Regions from separate parts of the Homo sapiens genome. Here region 1 is linked to region 2. Evidence: promoter capture Hi-C in 16 types of primary human blood cells and fetal thymus (Javierre and others, 2016). All regions are on one chromosome and are shown on one strand. Each heading gives the region's core, a stretch centred on a gene start or on the middle of the fragment in contact. The rest is flanking DNA. Distances are from core to core; before and after follow the strand shown. Region 1 holds the start of LTN1 (listerin E3 ubiquitin protein ligase 1). Region 2 holds the start of C21orf91 (chromosome 21 open reading frame 91).

Region 1 (6,858 bases), core at 1,526-4,025, about 11 Mb after region 2:
AACTCATGTTTGCAACACTTGCCTTCCTCCATTCTCTTCCATTCTCCCACATTCTTTCTTCTAATACCTGCATCATAATTCTTTAACATTTGCTTACATATGTGTCTGTATCATCAAACTAATAGTTCAAGAACAGCAGACATCTATTATCTCTGAATACCTGACATCCAGTATCAGAGTCTTCTATTGAAGACTTTGCCACATTAAAGTTAAAATCCCAACTCCACAACTTCCTGGCTACATGAGCTTAGGCAAGCTAATTTCTCTAAACCTCAGTTTCACCACATTTAAAATGAGATATGAGTAATTAATTCATTAGTTGGGTTGTTTTCATGATTAAGCATAAGTTTTTAAATCACCATAGTAATAACTGATTCCAGCAAGAATCAAAGGGTGCTCAAACCATTAGGTGAAAGTTTGTGGAAGAGCAGGACATTCACAGTTTCAAACTAACATATTATTTGTTATTGGCCAATGGAAAAATATAACTTTATAATGAACAACACCTTAACCAAGTAATTAAACAAATACCACCAATAAGGGGACAAACAGGTGCGAAGTGCCCCTGGTGTGTGATGCACTGAGAAAGACTCATCATCTATGAAGAATTCCTTCTAAAAATTGTTTAGCCTGAATCTAATCATAAGGAAAAAACTAGATGAATCTGAATTAATCAAACAAATGGCCCAGGCTCTTCCAAATTTTGTTAAAAAAGACACTCCTCTCCCCGCTTAAACAGTACTGAGAAACTGTCTAGATCAAAGAAACCCAAATGGTAACTAAATGGAATGAGTGATCCTTGACTGAATCTCAGATGTTAAAACGGTTTATCTTTTTAAAAAAGTCCCAGCCTGGGCAACATGGCAAAACTCTGTCCCTACAAAAATAAGCTAGCCGTGATGGCCTGTACCTGTAGTCCTAGCTACTGGAAAGGCTAAGCTGGGAGGATCACTTGAACCCGAGAGGCGGAGATTGCAGTGAGCCAAGTTCACGCCTCTGCACTCCAGCCTGGGTAACAGAGCCAGACTCTGTCCCCGAAAAAAAAAAAAAAAAGATTAGCCAGGAGTCCTAGCTACTAAGGAGGCTGAGGTGGGAGGACTGACCGCTTGAGCCCAAGAGGTTGACACTGCAGTGGGCCATGATCATACCACCACACTCCAGGTTTGGAGACAGAGCGACCCTGTCTTACAAAAAAAAAAAAAAGAAAAAAGAGAACATTATTGGGATAACTACAGAAGTCTAAATACAAGGCTGTATCCTGGATTACAGTATTATACAAAAGTCAAAGTTTCTGCATACTATAACCATTATTATAATTGCTGCAGGCTAGAAAATGGCATTGTTTTTAGAAGATACATGCTGATGTATTTAGGAGTTAAGAGTCCCGACTTCTGCAACTAACTCTTATAAGTTCAGAAAAATACATAAATTAAGAGAGAGAAAGCAAATGCAACCAAGTATTAGCAATTGGTAAATGTAGGTAAAGAGTATATGGGATGTCGTTCTAATATTCTTGCAACTTTTCCTCATAAGAACTTTTCAAATATAAAACATTTGAGAAAATCTGTTAAATAAAAAACATTAAAAGATGCAAGTAAAGTGCTTAGCACAGTAACACAACAGGTTGCTATAATTGTTAATACTGTTATTATCTTCCAAAACAGATTAAGTGACAGATCTAAGAAAATGTGACATTGAAATCACTAGAATTAACTACATCAGAAACAGGAAAAAAAAGCATTCTCATAAAATTGGACTGTGCTATAATAAATCTAACACCATAAAAAAATACCATTACAAAACCCCTCATCGTGTAGTTTTACACGAATCCACTTTAAGGTCGTCCTTAAGCAAGTACTTAGTGAGCGTCTATTAGGTGCCAGTCTGTTCTAGGTTCCGAGGATAAAAACATTTGCTTTCAAAATACTTACGTCCTAGTGAACCAAGACAATAAATGTCATAAATACAATGGAGTAAAATAAAGTAGGAAGAACATGGGAGTGGGGAAGGGCTACCAAGAGGGTGATCATGGGAGACCTCACTGAGGTGTCGAGAGCAAAGTTTGGAGCCACCTAACTGAAGAGCGTTGGGAGCCGGCCAGGTAGTCAAGGCACAGTGAAGAGATCAGTGTGGCTGGATGAAGTAAGCCAAGAGGAGGGAGCTGAAGATGGGACTGCAGATGGAAAGGGGTAACAGGCAGTCCAGAAACCAAATATACCATCCTAAGAGCTTTAGCTTAGGAGAAGCCACTGTAGGTAGCAAAGGAGAGGCACAATCTGCGGTAACCTCCACAGTGGATTCACTTTAACATTCTCCCAACTCTCCTTCTTCCCAGCGCCGCCCTCCCCCAACCAACCCGCTACCTCGGCCAGATCACCTTCCAGTGAACCTGACACATTATCATTTCTTCATGAATATTATGGGTGTGTGCTCGGATGAGGACAGCTCTGGCATGGTACATCTTTTCTCTCACGATTCCCCAATCTGCTCAGAGATAACACAAACCGCTCTCAGGGACGCACACACAACAGAGAGGTCACACTCGACAGGGAAACACACGCCTCCCTACAGCCGCGCTCCACACACCCTCCAGCAACGCGCTGGGCGGAGCCAGCCGCCTCGAAGCGAGGCTCCCGGGTCGGCCGAGCCAGCCCCCGCTCACCCTCAGGTTCCCTTTAGTTCGCTGCTTGTTCTTCCCGCCCATGGTCGCGGTTGCAGCTGTACTCTGAGCACTCAGACCCCGGTTGACACGTCCGGGACACAACTTCCGGCTTCTGGCGGCGGAAGAGGACACCCTGTAATAACTTCCCCCGGGCCCTTTTCCGCCACCCACCCTGTCCATTTGCTGCCCCACTTCCGCTCCCGCCTCCCGCTGTGTCCCTGACCATCCGCCACCGGAGACGTCACAGCTAAAGCCACGCCTGTCTGAGTGATGTCATTCCTGGCCAATAGGAAGCCAAGCATTGGACCCGTGGCGCCAAATCCTGTCCTCCCCGCTTTCAGAAGCTAGGTTTGTTCCTTGCTTAGAGGGTAGGAAACTGGCGTGAATCATCAGAGGGGCAGTTTCACATAAGGGTAGCATTAGAATGTTATGGTAGAGGCTGTGGGAAGATGGGAGTGTTTTAGACTTCCAACATGATGCAATCATCAGTATCACCTGGGCGTTTTTTAGAAAAGGCCAACTCGGGCCCCTCAGAACTCCTGAATCAGATCCTGCATTTTGACAGTATTCCCAAGTCTTGTTAAAATTTGATTACTGCTGTAGGCACTATTCTCTCTAAATCTCCCCTCCCCGTCCCCTTTTATTCATATTGAAACTGTTAACGTGCAGTTTAGGAAAGAGGATAATGTGGGAGTCCCTATTAAAATTTGAAATGTACAAATCCTGTAACCCATTGATTGTGCGACTCAGAATCACACCAGAGAAACAAGTAAATGTGTGCTGGTTATTGTTTCTTGTCCACGCAGTCACCCTTTTATACTCAACTCCATGTTACTGGGGGGGCTTCTGCTAGATTCCACCAACAGGACGAACAAGAGGGAAACAAAGGCAAGAGGAAGAAGGGACTTGCTCCATTCTGTAAGCATCATGCCAGCAGCAGCTGCATTTTACCGTGGCAGGAGCAATTGCTTTAGCCAAAAGGTGGTTTTAATCTCTATCCTTTTTCCAACAATCACAGAATCAGCCTTATTGCACCCCTCAGAGATCACAGCAGCAGTCAGTGCTCTCCTCAGAGATCTGAATTCTACTTTCATGCGGCCCCTCCCCTGAGCTCCTGAGATAGCCAATGTTTGAGCCACCTCCTCAGAAGTTTGAGCCTCAACACCGTGGGATCCCTTCTTTGTGCTCCAGAGATCCAGTAACAGCCAGCCATCACCCTCTCTTCATTCTTCATAGGCCTGAACTAAGGTGTTCAGGGCCCTCCTTCAAGCTTTTAGGTTCTGATGACTCCAACCACTTCTTTTGTTCCATCCTTTCCTAGCTCTAGGAATGGTAGCTGCTACCTGCAGTGATTACCTGTTACCTTTTATAATTCCTTTTGACCAATTTCCCATATTAAAATATTTCTCAATAACTAATGTGATTTCTGTTTTCCTGACTGGACCCTGATTTTAAAATGCACACAAAAGCCAGGTGCAGTGGCTTATGCCTGTAATCCCACCACTGTGGGAGGCCGAGGCAGGTGGATCACCTGAAGTCAGGAGTTCGAGACCAGCCTGGCCAACATGGCAAAAACCCATCGCTACTAAAAATACGAAAATTAGCTGGGCAGTGGTGGCAGGTGCCTGCAATCCCAGCTACTTGGAAGGCTGAGGCACGAGAATCTCTTGAACCCGGGAGGCGAAGGTTGCAGTAAGCCAAGATCATGCCACTGCACTCCAGCCTGGGTGACAGAGCAGACTGTCTCAGAAAAAAGTCACACAAAGAGACATATTACAGGAGGTTCACAAAAACTTTATAATAGAAAGATAATTGTAAGCAACCTATGTCTATATATTGGAGAACTGCTAAATAAATTATATGTATTCAATAAGCTATTAGGCAACATTTAAGAAGAATAAGGTTTATCTGAACACACATAGGAAGAATTCTAAGACACATTCTTAAATAAAAAGCAAATACCAATATATACAGTATGATACCATTTGTGTTTTTAAAACCCACAACACAATAATATATATATATATATATTTATGCATATATATATAATATAAATACAGAGAATAGGCCGGGTGCGGTGGCTCACGCCTGTAATCCCAACACTTGGGGAGGCCGAGGTGGGTGGATTGCTTGAGGTCAGGAGTTTGAGACAAGCCTGACCAACATGGTGAAACGCCGTTGCTACTAAAATACAAAAATTAGCTGGGCATGGTGGCAGGCAGCCGTAATCCCAGCTACTAGGGAGGCTGAGGCAGGAGAATTGCTTGAACCCAGGAGGTGGAGGTTGCAGTGAGCCAAGATCGCGCCTCTGCACTTCAGCCTGGGTGACAAAGTGAGACTCCGTCTCAAAAAAAAATAATAATAAAATAAAGATCTGCAAGAATACATACCAGTCTGATCATTGTAGTGACTTTTTGTGGGAAAAAGTGGCAAGAAAAGACATTAGGGTTAAGAGTTATAGTCAAAGGAAATTAAGCCTTATCTGTAAGATTTTATTTTATACAAGGACAACATCTTCATGTATTAATTATGTAATTAAAAATCAACTCAGGCTGGGTGCAGTGACCGATGCCTATAATCCCAGCACTTTGGGAAGCCAAGGTGGGTGGATCACCTGAGATCAGGAATTCAAGACCAGCCTGGCCACGATGGTGAAACCTCGTCTCTACCAAAAATACAAAAACTAGCTAGGCACGGTGGCACGCACCTGTAACCCCAGCTATGTGGGAGGCTGAGGCAGGAGAATTGCTTGAACCCAGGAGGCAGAGGTTGCAGTGAGCCAAGATCGCGCCACTGCACCCCAGCCTGGGCAACAGAACAAGACTCCGTCTCAAAAAAAAAAAAAAAAAATCAACTCAACAAATATTGTTTGTTTAAAATAAATCATTGGTTACATATATCATGGTACATTGGTTATACAAATTGTAGTGTCCTCATTCTTGAGAGTTATACAATATAGCTGCAAACAGTTTAACACATTGGAAACACTACTAGATATCATGCCATTCACTGAAAATGTGGGTGTCACATATCAAAAATGCTACAGAAGGGGAAGATTAACATGTGCTTGAGTAGTCAGATAGGCTTTCCAAGCCAAAGCCCAAAGCTTGGAAAACATTAGGAAAAGTAAAATAAAAGGGAGAACATTCAAAATGGGGACGAGAGAGGGACAGAGACAGTGAGTTGGATTAGCATGGATTTCGGAAAGGACAGTCAAGAATCTAGCCTAACTTCAGTGCAGACTTACCCAGGGGGAAAAAAAAAAAAAAAACTTGAAGGACAAGACTGGAATGATTTTCTGTGCTCCTATTTACTAATTGTTTCCTAAATTTTGTCTGTTCTTGCTGGAAATATCTCTTCATTTCATTTCCTTGTATTCTGACGAGACTTTCCACCTTTTGCAACAGGGATCCATGCCTCTTGCCATGTTCCTCAACTACTCCAGGCCACACAGATCTCTCTTCGATTTTCCTAGGACATCAACTTATAACTGGTTTATTTTTTTACCCAGAAGTCAGTAGGATATTACTGCTTTGGGAACTTGAAAATAGTCTCATTGATTTAACAGTTTCTCATGTTTAGATTTTCCAGCAAGTCTGTAAATCCTTTGAAGGTGAGGCTATCTCCATGGTACTCTTAAACAGTGCCTGCCAAAGTAGATACCCGCAAATTTGTTTTAATTGATTCATACAAGGTTTTAGAAATCAGAAAATAATTGTTTCTATCAATACAGTAGGTGATAGGCAGAAAAGGTTTGGACAGAAGAACATTAAAAATAATGTTTAATTTTTGTCAAAATGTTAATGTTTATGTCAAGAAATGTCGGCTGGGTGCAGTGGCTCACGCCTGTAATCCCAATGCTTTGGGAGGCCAAGCCAGGAGGATTACCTCAAGTCAGGAGCTCGAGACCAGCCTGGCCAACATGGTGAAAACTTGTCTCTACCAAAAATACAAAAATTAGCCAGGCGTGGTGGTGCGTGCCTGTAATCCTACATACTCAGGAGTCTGAGACAGGAGAATCACTTGAACCCACGATGCAGAGGTTGCACTGAGCTGAGGTCACACCACTGCACTCCAGCCTGGGCAACAGAGCAAGACTCTGTCTCAAAAGAAAAAAAGAAAAAAGAAATGTCAATACTTTTAAGGCCAAGATTAGAAACTCTTCAGAAACCAGGTTGGGAGTTAAAAAAAAAAAA
Region 2 (6,198 bases), core at 1,716-4,215:
TGGCATGAACTCCATTAATGATGATTTGCCAGCAAACACTGGTTAGAAAAAGCTGGCTGAGAGAATAGCAAGGATAACCAATTAGGATTAGAACATCAGCCCTATTGCTATAAAATAACTATTGACAGTAGATCAATGGTATTAAGATCACATATACTAGAACCAGACTGCCAGGCTTTAAAGTCCAGGACCAACAGTTATGAGCTGTGTGACTTCAAACTGTATTTCTTAGGTCGCCAAGGTTCAGTTCTATCACATTTAAAATAGAAAATGACAGTAGTCATTCCAAAGCTATCTTGAGTTAAATAAGATAATCCACATAAGGGGTTTAGCACAGTGCCTGGCACATAACAACAGCTTGCCATCACCACTACAGCAACCCTGGGCAGTCCAACTTTTTGGCTGTTTCCTTAAATGTAAAATACAGGGTTTGGACTAGATAATTTCTAATGTCTTTACTCATCTAAAATTAAAATTCTACAATGTATCAACAATATACAAGCCAACTCTATTTCCAAAGAACATAAATTTGGATTTTCACCCCAGCATGATTTAAGTACTGTAAAAGAAACTTATTTTTAAGATATCCTTTTATTTTTATTTAATTTTTTAGAGATGGGGTCTTGCTATGTTGCCCAAACTGGACTTGAACTCCTAGGCTCAAGCAATCCTCTCACCTTAACCTCTGGAGTAGCTGAGATTGTAGGAACACACCACTGTTCCTGTTATGTCATCTTTTGAAATTAGCTATAATCACTACATTTATTAAAGCTGAAGTTATAGATATTCTATGTAATCCACAAGAAATCCATAATCTTCCATCACATACTGTTTGGTGACCATAATAATTTCTGAATAACAAGTCCTAACAGGAATTTCAAGGTATATAATCCCCCACTATATTTTTTTAAACAATAAGAACATTTCATACCCCATACTTAGTAAACAGAAAATAAAGATCATGAAAAATTTCAAATATATAATACAGAAAAAAGGAAAGAACTATTTTGAAACTGTCCAAAATCTAGAGGTTTAATAAAGTCTCTCTACTGATATGTTACAACTCAAAACTCAAATTACAGGCCAAATTTTTTTTGCAGGAATATTAAGGTTTTTTTTAGTATGACTCATAAATATCTAAACCAAAAATCAATTGTAATATGACAACACTAACTGCACCAACCCAAATAAATCCTTCCAATAGGGCTTTTTTTTGGGGTTTCTTTTTGGATTTGGAGAATTTTTCTTCATATATCTTAGGGACATTATTAAAAAAATTTTAAAAACCTTTTCAGGTTTTAAAAATTACCAACAGTGTGTGTGATCACTGAAAAGAGGTTAATCTAAAAATTTTAAAGTATTTTTCCAGATAATAAGATCATACTGGTGAGAAAAGAGTTCGGGCTCATCTCACTCAAATACTTGCATAATAGGCTCGAAAGAATAAAAAAATTGTTATGTTACTTCTTAATATAAAAAACACACAGGTCTGTTAAAATCTGACAATTCAATAAGCTCTCAAACCAGAAAACACGTTTCCCAGTCAACACTCATACTTATTTCTGTATTAGGAAAAATGGGGTTGTTGCAGGGGTCTTTAAAAAAAAAAGATTTCTCTTAAATTCGTAACTCTGTTAACTGCACCTTCATTTCCAGAAACCTTATCTTTAACAAATCTCTACACTATTCATACTTAGCACAATTTCCAATCATTGAAGACATTTTAGTTTTACCTTACAATCAGTACAAAGCAGCTGTGTTAAATTCATTCCATAAGATCAAAACTATACTGTGTCCTTACCCTCAATATTTAGCTCAAAACAAATGTGGCAGAAGGAGAGTGTTTCTTTGTCTGTTCCCAGTTTACAAACACTGCAAATGTTGTCATCATTCAAATCAATGTTTACAAACTGCTCCTCTTCGTTCATAGTGCCCCTATTAAGAAACAGAAAAGGAAAGTTACACAATTTCATGAACCTGCCTTTGGGGTAGTTCCCTTTACTGGGAACTTCTAGGAAATAAGGATGCTGTTCAGCTCATTTAAAGCAAAAGCTCCATCAAACAAGCATCGCCATACTTGCACTCCAACATTGCACTTTTCCTGTGGAAAGACACAAAGCTAGTAAAACTTAAAGCCAGGCCATAGGTGACACTATGTCCGTGTCTTTTTTGTCCTATAGTTGATTGGGTTAGTGGCACCTGAAGGAAAGAGATTTGCCGGCATTCTAGTCCTCCTCCTTCGTCCCCCAACCTCGAATAATCAGAGGGCTTAGCAGCGAGGCCTTTTCAGCTACCAGGTTCTGTCAACCTAGTTAACGCTGTGAGAAACAGGAAAAACGACCTGCACGGGACACTGCTTTGCTAACTTCATTGGGGGAACCTCAGATGCGCCTCGCGAACTCGGAGTTGCGAAGCTTCGCATCGAACGGAGATCGGCGGCAGCAAAATGCACGTGGGTACCGAATACCCGGGGAGGGCGTCCCGCCGTGTCCGGGGCAACTACACCGAAGGCCGAGCGGCGGCTTCACGGTACCGGCCGGGCACCGCCGGAGGGGCCCAAGCCGGAGCTGGGAGAGCCGCGGCATCCTGGAGCCCGGCGGGCGGGAGAGCCTCGTCCCATCGCTCCGGGATTCCTCCCAGAGGGAAGAAAGCGTCCGAGGGCCACGGCGGCCGGTCCGCCCAGCCTCAGCGTCTCGGGGAGCCGGGTCCTGGCCCGGCCTTCGGCGTTGGGGGCGCGCGGCCGCCCCCAGGGAGTCGCGGACCCAAGTCCGTCTTTCCGTCGGTCTGTCCGTCGGGGCGCCTGGCGCGCAGCAGCGCGAGGGGCCACGGGGCTCGGAACTCGAAGGAGGCGGAACGATGGGACTGGGGGTCGGGGCTCAGGTGGGATGGGAGCAGGGCTGCGGGGTCTTTACCGTCCGGCTCCGCGGGCCACCACCGCCGTTCCGTGCGGCTCGGGTTCCTCCACTATTGTTTCCGGCCGCAGCAGAGGCGGCCGCCGCGCGCCTGGCCCCGCCCTCTCCCGCCGGCTCCATCCCGTAAAGGCTGCGGGGAGGGTGGCGCGGCCGCGGGCACACCTGCGCGCTCGCCGGGCTGCTGTGGGTCCGCCCCTCCGCTCCTGCACCGACGCCGCACCTTCGCCTCGAGTTCTCCTGTGATCCCGTGTTTCCTGGCCGGAGTTTCTTACCGTTCTCTGGAACGTAGCTCCTCACACACCCCTCCTCGAGGTGCGTAGATAGACGAATCCGTTCCACCTCTCCCTTCAGCCTAGTGCAAACTACTGCCCCGGGGCGGGGGCCGCAGGCGGCGGGGGTAGGAAAGCCGCGGGTGGATGGCAGAACGGGAGAGGTGCGTGGGTGGCACTTTGACTTCAGGAGAAAGAAGCAGAATACTGTCACTGAACTTATAGTTAAGTGCCAGTTGAAGTATCTAACGAAGGAAAAGTTCATATTCAGGTGTCATGATAGAGGCATAATTTCAAATACAGAATCTTTTCAAATACATTATTTGTTGTGGGGCGCCCCTGCCCCCAATATGGTACATCCCTCAACGCCCACGGGAAAAATCCCGAAGCCCCACCTCTTATTTTTAGGTCCTGCTTGGTTCTCAAATTCTTTGCTTGACTTTTGTTTAAGCTATTCTGTTTTTTTTAGGGTATGGTTCTTGCAGTACTTTCACTTACATTTTCCATTGTAGTCCTCACAGTAACCTACAGAGGAGAAACAGGAACTGTTCTCTCATGTTGCAGCCTACGAGTAATTGACCCAGGTTATCACAGTTGGTTAGAAAAAGGCTGGGACTTGAACCGAAGGCTACTGACCTAAGATCAATGTTATTTTCTACAGCATCATATGTATGTGTTCTGGTTGCACTCACATAGAAAGAGGGCTAGCCTGTCAATCTACATGTAGGCATTCTTGAACTGATGGTTAGGAATGGACTGTCTAGATCTTGGAAACTTCTGGGCCAAATTAGCACTCCAGTTATGGCATTTGTGCCTCGCAGGAGCGATCTGTGTCCTTGCCACCTAAATTGTAGTAGATGAACAAACAACATTGACATTACTTGGTTTCCTGTTAGAAATGTAGAATCTCAGGCCCCACTCGAGATTTCCTAAATCAATACTTGCACTTTAACAAGACCGCCAGGAGATTCCTATGTTCATCGAAGTTTGAGATGCACTAATTGAAATGAAAAGCCTGTGCTTTTTCTCTTCGAATTTCTCATTCTAGGTAACTACGACTAAGATACCTTGCATGTTGGATTCTACCCATCTTTTCAATAAAAAGCATTCTTTTAAAAAGGACTCTTTTAAAGTGATTCAATAAAAGTGTTCTAAAATCACTAAAATTTAAAAATTGAAACAAGTTATTTTCACTTCTCAGAATTGTCTTCCTTCCTATGGCATTTCACATTGTTTACTTGCTATTCTTAAAACTCTTCTCTCTTGTTGTTGGCTTTTTAAAAAAAATCAAGGAATAATTTACAGAAATAAAATGCTTCCATTTTAAAAGCATTATTTGATGAGTTTTGGCAAATACATACACTTGAGTAACCACCACCCCAGTGAGGATACAGAACATTTCCACAGCCCCGACATTTCTTTCTGTTCCTTTCTGGTCAAGCTCCTTCAACATGGGATCTAATTTATATGACGAAGTGTTTTAGTTTTGTCTGTTATAGGAATTCATATACATAGAATTAAGCAGTGTGTGTTCATTTGTGATTGGCTATTGTCATGCAGCATGTTTTTGAGATTCACGATGGTATTTTGTAACAGTGGTTTCTTTTCACTGCTCGTCTTAGTCAGTTTGTGTTCCTATAAAGGAATACCCAAGGCTGGATAATTTATATAGAAAACAGGTTTATTTGGCTCATGGTTCTGGAGGCTGTACAAGAAGCATGGTGCCAGCATCTGTTTCTGGTGATGGCCTCAGGCTGATTCCATTCATGATAGGAGGCAAAGGAGAGCCAGTATGTGCAGAGATCATGTGGCCTGAGAGTGAGCAAGAGAGAGAGGGGAGGAAATTCCAAGCTTGCTCTCTCTTTATTTATTTTTTATTTTTTATTTTATTTTATTTAAAAACGAGTTCCACTGGGAATTAAGAGTGGGAATTGATTCACACCCTAGAGAATGGCACCAAGCCATTCATCAGGGATCCATAACTAAGCTCCAACCCCTTGCTCTCCACTCCCCAACCAAGCTTCACCTCCAACGCTGGGGATCAGTGGGGCATGGGGGCTCATACCTGTAATCTTAGCACTTTGGGAGGCTGTGGTGGGCTGATCGTTTGTGTCTAGGTGTTCGAGACCAGCCTGGGCAACATCGTGAAACCCCATCTCTACCAAAAAACCCCACAAAAATTAGCCAGGCAGGGTGGTGCATGCCTGTAGTCCCATCTACTCAGAAGGCTGAGGTGGGAGACTGGCTTGAGTCCTAGAGGTGGATGTTGTGTGAGCTGAGATTGTGCCACTTCACTCCAGCCTGGGTGACAGAGTAAGACTCTGTCTCAAAAAAAAAAAAAAAGAGAAAAAGATGTCCACACGCTAATTCTTGGATATTTTGAATATGTATGTAACATAGCAAAAGAGACTTTGTAGATATAATTAAGGTTATAAACTTTAAAATAGGTTTTCCTGGATTATTGCGCTGAGCCCAATCTAATCACATGAACCCTTATAACCAGAGATCTTTCTCCAAGTAAGCTCAGAGAAATGTAGCAAAGAGAAAGTCAAAGTGATTAGAAGCATGAGAGGGACTTGACCCACCATTGCTCTAGGAGCAAACACTGGTCTCCAGCTGGTAGCCAGCAAGGAAATGGGAGCTACAGTCTTTAAACTGCAAGGAACAGAATTCAGCCAACAGCCTGCATAGATTGAGAAGCTCATTTGAACAATCTTCCAACACTTTGATTTCAGCCTTATGAGATTCTAAATAGAGGAGTCAACTGAATCATGCTGTACTGGAATTTTTACCTACAGAACTGTGAGATAATAAATGGGTGTTGTTTCAAGCCATTAAACTTGTGTTAGTTATGCCAGCATTACAAAGATTGAATGTCGAAATTTTTAAAGAAGGTTGAGATTTATTTTGGGAAGATGTTACTCTAGTGGCTGATCAGCTTGCTTCTTTAGAGACTTGTTTGTAAACCTTGTGAGGGTCTACACTATCATTTTGTAATATGGATATCTTAGTCCAGT

Evidence for each region. The method cuts DNA at HindIII sites, captures the fragments that hold promoters and counts their contacts. A CHiCAGO score of 5 or more calls a contact.
Region 1: a contact is called between the fragment with the promoter of LTN1 here and the fragment with the promoter of C21orf91 in region 2, in 2 of 17 cell types (total B cells and fetal thymus). The highest score is 6.1, in total B cells.

The regions. Positions count from the first base shown.
Region 1 is chr21:28,990,102-28,996,959 of GRCh38, forward strand. It overlaps LTN1 (listerin E3 ubiquitin protein ligase 1), which reads right to left and starts at 2,776. Exons shown (of 30, transcript NM_015565.3): 1 at 2,663-2,776. The coding sequence starts at 2,704. It overlaps LOC105372766 (a long non-coding RNA gene), which reads left to right and starts at 3,002. Exons shown (of 3, transcript XR_007067835.1): 1 at 3,002-3,030; 2 at 3,469-3,580; 3 at 3,681-4,080. RefSeq lists enhancers at 2,581-2,690, 3,001-3,060. The HindIII fragment of the contact is 7,723 bases long and covers 1-3,930 here.
Region 2 is chr21:17,816,391-17,822,588 of GRCh38, forward strand. C21orf91 (chromosome 21 open reading frame 91) reads right to left here and starts at 2,966. Exons shown (of 5, transcript NM_001100420.2): 1 at 2,913-2,966; 2 at 1,802-1,935. The coding sequence starts at 1,928. All of the region lies in intron 2 of LOC124900465 (a long non-coding RNA gene), which reads left to right. RefSeq lists a silencer at 2,581-3,360 and an enhancer at 3,611-3,660. The HindIII fragment of the contact is 2,618 bases long and covers 2,413-5,030 here.